2 separate regions of the Homo sapiens genome follow, and region 2 is linked to region 1. Evidence: promoter capture Hi-C in 16 types of primary human blood cells and fetal thymus (Javierre and others, 2016). All regions are on one chromosome and are shown on one strand. Each heading gives the region's core, a stretch centred on a gene start or on the middle of the fragment in contact. The rest is flanking DNA. Distances are from core to core; before and after follow the strand shown.

Region 1 (3,236 bases), core at 498-2,997:
TTTGTGAATATGTTACCTTCCGTGGCAAAGGAGAATTAACTTTGCAGGTGGAATTAAGATTGCTAATCAGCTGATCTTAAAATAGATTATCTAGGGAGGCCAATGTAATCACAGGGATCTCAAAAGCAGAAGACGGGCGGGGGGGGCGGGGCCGGGCGGGGTCAGCCAGGCCAGGTGGCTCACATCTGTCATCTGTAATCCCAGCACTTTGGGAGGCCAACGCAGGAGGATCACTTGAACCCAGGAGTTCAAGACCAGCCTGGGCAACATGGCAAAACCCCATCTCTACAAAAAAAAACAGAAAAAACAATTAGCCCAGAGTGGTGGTGCACACCTGCGGTCCCAGCTATGAAGCAGGAGGATCACTTGAGCCCAGGGGGTTTAGCAGTGAACTGAGATCATGCCACCACACTCCAGCGTGGGTGACAGAGCGAGACCCTGTCTCAAAAAACAACAAAACAAACAAAAAAATCCAAAAAACAAAAAAGTAGAAAACAGAGGCAGAAAAGACAGGCCAGGAAGAGATTCTCCTAGAAGCTACGGAAAAGAACACAACTTCACCAACACCTTGATTTTAGACCAGTGAGATCCCGTCTGACTTCTCACAACCCTAACAACAACACATTTCCTGTGTTTTACGCCACTAAATTTGTAGTAATTTGTTACAACAGAAAATAATAAACTAATATACCAGGCTTCTTCTAGTCCTTGGATTTCAGAAAAATTTTGACATCAGTAATTGCTACTAAAATGACCCTATAACCCAGGACACTGCCAGTCTTGTGAACTGTTTGGTACTACTCCCTAGGAAGAAAAATACAGAAATTGAGAGTTTATTTGTATATAATTCAATTTCATGTCTGCTGAGTTTAATTATTAAAAACTTAGGCTTGTAATTTTATTTCTTCCATTTCATTTATCTATAAATTTATGGTATTTTACAAAAGTACTGGCTGAGACAAACGGAGATTTTACTTTACTTTTTAAAAAAAGAAGACATTTACAAAAGAGAGGTGAAGCGCTGACAAGTTAAATCACTTGCCCAAGTTCAGAAAGTGATTCATCACCCAGTCATTAAATTAACAAATGTTTATGAAGGGCCTTCTACTCCAGACAGCAAGCTCCATGCTAGAGCTACTGTTCAGAACAAGACCCAGCAGAGCCCTGCCTCTCCGTGTGAGTCCCATTCTCCTTAGCGTCCCAGGAATCGCCCTAGATCGCCTCCCCAGCAGCGCTCCCCGCTGGTTACCTTCCCACCAGCATTCAATCCCAGGAAAACAAGCGCAGTGTGGACAGACCCGGCCCAGTACGCAAATGCCACACAAAAGGACAACGAAAGGAAGAAAAACACCAAGCACAGATTCTAGGGGCCGAGGGCTGAGCCACAACGCACCGCAACTCCGGAAAACTGGGCCCCGGACCTCAGCTCCCCTTCCTAAGCCAGGCTCCGCCCCTATTCCCGACCCCGCCCACCGCGTCGTTGGCGTAATTCCCGCGACTCCCTCTCACCCGCCCGGGCTCCACCTTCTGTAGGGGCTCCACCTTCTGTAGAAGCTCCGAGTGCCGCTCCAACGCGCTCGCGAAACCGCCTGCGCGCGTCTTAGGCTCCTTGGCATTGGAACTACCACTTTCGGATCCACTCTCAGTGCCTACACCCCGAAAGGGCCTGAAGAAGAGAAACACTCGCAGAAAATGGCTCTCGGCAGCCACAGCACGGGTCCGACACAGCGCCGCCATGACTTCTTTACCTCTGACCTTTGACCTCCCCTCCGCAAGCGCGCGGGTCACGGGGCGGAGCTATGAGAGGTCCGCCCCCCGGACGCAGAGCTCTGGAGGCCAACGAGGCGTGTCTTCCTTTCATCTGGGAGTGGCGTGGGGAAGAAGAGACTTAAGCTAAAATTGGTGGGCTAAATAGTTGGAAAGGGGCCTGGTTAAGTTTTGCGTTAGAAGTGCGTTTAACTTGCAGGAATTTCGCCTTCCTGGGCATCCGTTGGACCCCATTGTACTGTAAATTCTGCTAACGCGACGCTCGTTCTCCCGCCCTGCCGTCCCCCCTACATGGCCGCCAGCACTCGAGTTTGGGGTCTTCACTCAAATATGAGGGTCTCCTTGATTACCCTATTTAGAAGTGGAAGCCCAAATGCAGACTCTCTGGCACCTGTTTTTCTTAGTACCATGTAGCACTTTCTAATATGCCACATATTAATATTAAATATTTAATAATATTTAGTGTCTACTCCCAACTTTTTAAACTTTGAAAAGAGGAACTTTGCTGTAGGGTCCCTAGCACCAGGCACAGATTAGGGCTCACCCAACATTTGCCAAACCCTGCATCCAAGTTTGTCCTTTGCCACTTCTGCAGCCAGTCCACTCACGCCACAAAAATAGTTTTTCTGAAATGTTTTGACACCTCTAGATACCTATTATCTAACTTAGGAGTTCAGAAGTTTTGGAATGTCCCTAAGTATTGCACCGCCGTAGGCCCCCACCCTCACTCTGGATTTTCTTTCCCTTTTCTCCTGCAGTGTTAATTCCCAAAATTTACCCACCCTGTTCAAAACAGCCTAACATCATTCTTAAGTGTTTATTAATTAGTTGTCCGTCTATCTTTGACCCAGCAGTTTAATATTAATCCACAGTTAGTTTTATTTTGGGGGCACACACCTTTCCAGTTCATTTGCAAGTACTTCGAGAGAAAGAATTTTTATGATCACAGACCCTATTTTAAGAATGCCTTGACTATGGGTTTTAAGCTTTTCTGATGCTCTCTAATGGTACAGATAGTGTTAAGAACACGAAGTACACTGATCTCAGAATGGTGCACAATTGTATGAATCACATAAAATTATTACTAGCTAACTGTATGGTAGTCCTTACAAATTCATTAAATTCTCCAGGTGAGTTCTCCCTCTTGGCAGTTAAAACTGTTTATCTCCCGAGACTATTAATGGACTCTTGCCTAGAACATTATTTTCTACGGATAGTGCTACTTCCACTTTTTTTCAGGAGAAAGTGTGGTAAATTGTAAAGAGCATGGCCAGTGGTCTTCAAGAACCCTCAGTCTGACTGGGCAGGGTGGCTTACACTTGTAATCCCAGCACTTTGTGAGGTTGAGGAGGGAGGATTGCTTGAGATGAGGAGTCCGAGACCAGCTTGGGCCATAGCAAGAACCAGTCTCTACCAAAAAATAGAAAAATCAGCCTGGGGCAGTGGTGCATGCCTGTAGTCCCGGCTAC
Region 2 (3,236 bases), core at 522-3,021, 840 kb after region 1:
GGAAAATCACATACCCAGACAGACTACTTGAACTATAAATGTGGAATCACAAACCTCAGTTGCGTCCTTGATACTGTCTGGCAACTCTATTCATCTCCCTAGTACATTTGCTCTCAATGCCTTCAGCTCTTACTTCAAATCTCCCTCACCCTCAGCTGATGACCTTCCTTTCTGCTACATGGAGAAAACAGAAGCCATCAGAAAACTACTGTCATCTGATCATCACCCAATATAGAAAATATACCCACATCTGGACTCATATTCTCCATCTTCTCTCCAATCTAATGGAGGAAGGTTCCCAAAGGCCAGCCCTTTACTTGGGTTTCAGGTTCCCTCCCTAAGGCTTTCCAAGGACTTTCCTCCTGTAGTTTTTTCTTTTCTCTACATCTTTGGTTCCTCCCTAAATGACCCCTCAATGATCCTCACCACCTGGTGTTTATAACCTTGTAAAATTCCCTCTCCTTAGGTTGTGGGTGGAACCTGTGACTTACTTCTAACCAACAGAATATGGCCAAGTTTCTGGCCTATTCCTCCTGACTACATTGCATTATGCAAGGCTCCATCTTGCTGGCAGGCAGGCTCTAAGATTCTCCTTGCTGGCTTGATGAAGTAAGAGGCCAAGCTAAGGAGTCCCATGTGACAAAAAACAGCAGTAAGTAGGGAAGGGGAGGGGGAGAAGAGCTCTACAAGCTGAGAACAACTTCCAACTGATAACCAGCAAGAAGCTAGGACCCTCAGTCCTACAGATGCAAGGGAATGAATTCTGCCAACAATCTATGTAAGCTTACAAGTTAATTATTCCCTGGTCAAGCCTTCAGATGAGAACTCAACCCATGTAGCACCCTGATTGCAGCCTTGTGAGACTCTTCACAGAAAACCTAGTTAAGCTGAGCCTAGACTCCTAACCCACAGAAACTCTAAGAACTGTTTTAAAGCAAAAAAAAATTTGTAGTAATTTGTTACACTACACTACAATAGAAAACTAATAACCCCTCTTCCACATAATTCCCATGATGCTTTAGTCATAACACTAGGGTCTACTGTATCCCATCTTTTAAAAAAACCTAGGCCATAGGCCTTCCAGCTATTCCTCCTCCTCTTTGTTCTCCTTTCCAAAAAACTTGTCAAAAGAGTTTTTCCTGTGTCCCTCTGTCCACACCTCTCATCGGCTGCTCAGCCTACTCCAAGCACATCACTCAAACTTCTCTTGTCAAGGACACTAGTAAGTTCCATCTTATCTAATCCAAATGAACATCTCTCTCTCTCTTTCTTATTCTATATCTCAGCAGCATTCAATACAGTTCATTACTCCCCACCCACTTTTTGGAACTATTTCTTCTCTTGGCTTATTGGACTTTAGATTTTCTAGTTTTCCTTCTACTTATTTGGCTGCTGCTTCTCAATAGTGTTTGCTGGCTTCTCCATTTACACCCAAACTTAAATAGTGCTGTGCCCCAGAATCAGGCCCCAGGCTCTCCTCTCTTGGCCCCCTGCACTCCCTTAAAGCCCCCAGGCTTTACATGACATTAACATACTGATGTCGCTCAAATTCCTCCCACTATCCCTGACCTCTCCTATCCACTCCCCATCTCACCACCATCTGCCTAACCACACCCTCCACCTGGTTGTCCAATAGTCATCTCAGAATTCACATGCACAAAACAGAAAACCTGATTTTTGTTCTCTCGGTTTTCCTAATCTTAGTAAATGGTACCTTCAACCAACATTTACATCATGGTCTCATCCTGGATTCCTCCCTTTCCTTCATTACCCATCAACCAACCCATCCACAAGTTCTTGTAGGTTGATCCTCACAATAGATTCTGAATTTGCCATCTCCTGCCAATCTCTAACTCCAAGCTGCCCTCTCCCTCCCTTGGTCTGTGTAGTGACAGCCACCCAACTGGCCTCCCTGCCTCTACTACTGTCCTCCACACAGCATGGATCTTTTGAAAACTACAAATTACCTTGTAAGACTTTATTGCTTAAAACTTTTCAAAGATTTCACTATCCTTTTAAAGGGCCCACCAGGCTCTCTTTGCAGGCACCTCCCAGCCTCCTTGACATATCTCATACCTACCAAGTTCCAGCCACACTCACCCTTTTCTCCTTTCCACCTCAAGACTTGCAACTGCTACTCCCTCTGCCTGGAAAGCTCTTCCCATGCGAAATGTCTCATATCTCAGGTCAAATGTTCCCTCCTCAGAGAGATCTCACCCACAGTAGCTTTCTCTTCTTCCTTTGAAACTCTAAGATATCATGATTTTCTTCACAGGACACACCACAATCTGAAGTGTTATTCTTGCTTATGCATGTACATCTGCATCTATGTATTTGATTGTTGCTATGATGCCTCTCACTAGATGTGAGCATCAGGAAGGTGTCCACTGCTATGTTCTAGAATAGCTGCTAGCACATAATAGGTGTTCAATAAATATTTGTTGAATAAATGAATGCATGAATATATGTAAGAGGTTAACATTCGTATATGCATTATAATAAAATTATCTAGTGATATTCCATTAGAAAATCTCTTCAGATACAGTGTCTTTAAAAGAGTAATTTAAAAGATAAACCTCAAATGACTCCAACATTCTGTGTAAATTTCTGAAGTTGTGGGCAAATGAGAGTGTTATAAAATGAAGCCCATTTTGAAAGAATTTAAAGGAAATTTACTTGAAGATGTGAAAAACCTTTACTGATCAAGTGAATTATCACACTCATTATTCTGTTTTTACGGATTTGATTTTTTCCCTATATTAAGCTTGTTTTCATCACAGAGCATAAATTATTATTGTTTCTATCACAAATTGTGCAATCACTATTCAAACCACAGGACACACTTTCAGTATTTCTGGACAAAAATGCTAAGGAGTCACTACTCTTGATATTCAATGTCACTGACACCATGTGACTTCATTTCAAACCCAGCTATATCTTGTAGCCATACAATGCAGGCTTTTCAACAGACCATGGTAATGAATGTGGTCACGGTTTGGATTTCAACAAGCAGCTGTCAAAAACTATCATCCCAAATAACTACTTGCTGAAAATTTCTCACTCCCAGAGCTGGTACTTCCAGGGTGGTCTAGGAAATAAATTTCTGCCCACATCTACTCTGGGGCTATTCTAATTGCCGATGTTCAACATTTCTTTGGAAATGCAACTTCAAGCTTTGAGGAGCTTTTTTTGGTGAGCCCCCAAAGCTTTTTTTAGTGGTCTCTAACTATTAAGCT

What was found. Contacts are between HindIII fragments. The CHiCAGO score rates a contact against its expected background, and 5 or more counts as called.
Region 2: a fragment that was not itself captured here is called in contact with the fragment with the promoter of MRPS28 in region 1 in 1 of 17 cell types (fetal thymus); the score reaches 6.0 in fetal thymus.

The regions. Positions count from the first base shown.
Region 1 is chr8:80,028,512-80,031,747 of GRCh38, forward strand. It overlaps MRPS28 (mitochondrial ribosomal protein S28), which reads right to left and starts at 1,748. Exons shown (of 3, transcript NM_014018.3): 1 at 1,525-1,748. The coding sequence starts at 1,737. The region is part of intron 5 of TPD52-MRPS28 (TPD52-MRPS28 readthrough); the gene reads right to left. It also overlaps a transcript of TPD52 not described here. RefSeq lists an enhancer at 1,471-1,900. The HindIII fragment of the contact is 3,845 bases long and covers 1-2,751 here.
Region 2 is chr8:80,869,246-80,872,481 of GRCh38, forward strand. All of the region lies in intron 1 of ZNF704 (zinc finger protein 704), which reads right to left. Among named protein-coding and RNA genes, the nearest start is that of ZNF704, 3.9 kb to the right of the region's middle. The HindIII fragment of the contact is 1,981 bases long and covers 782-2,762 here.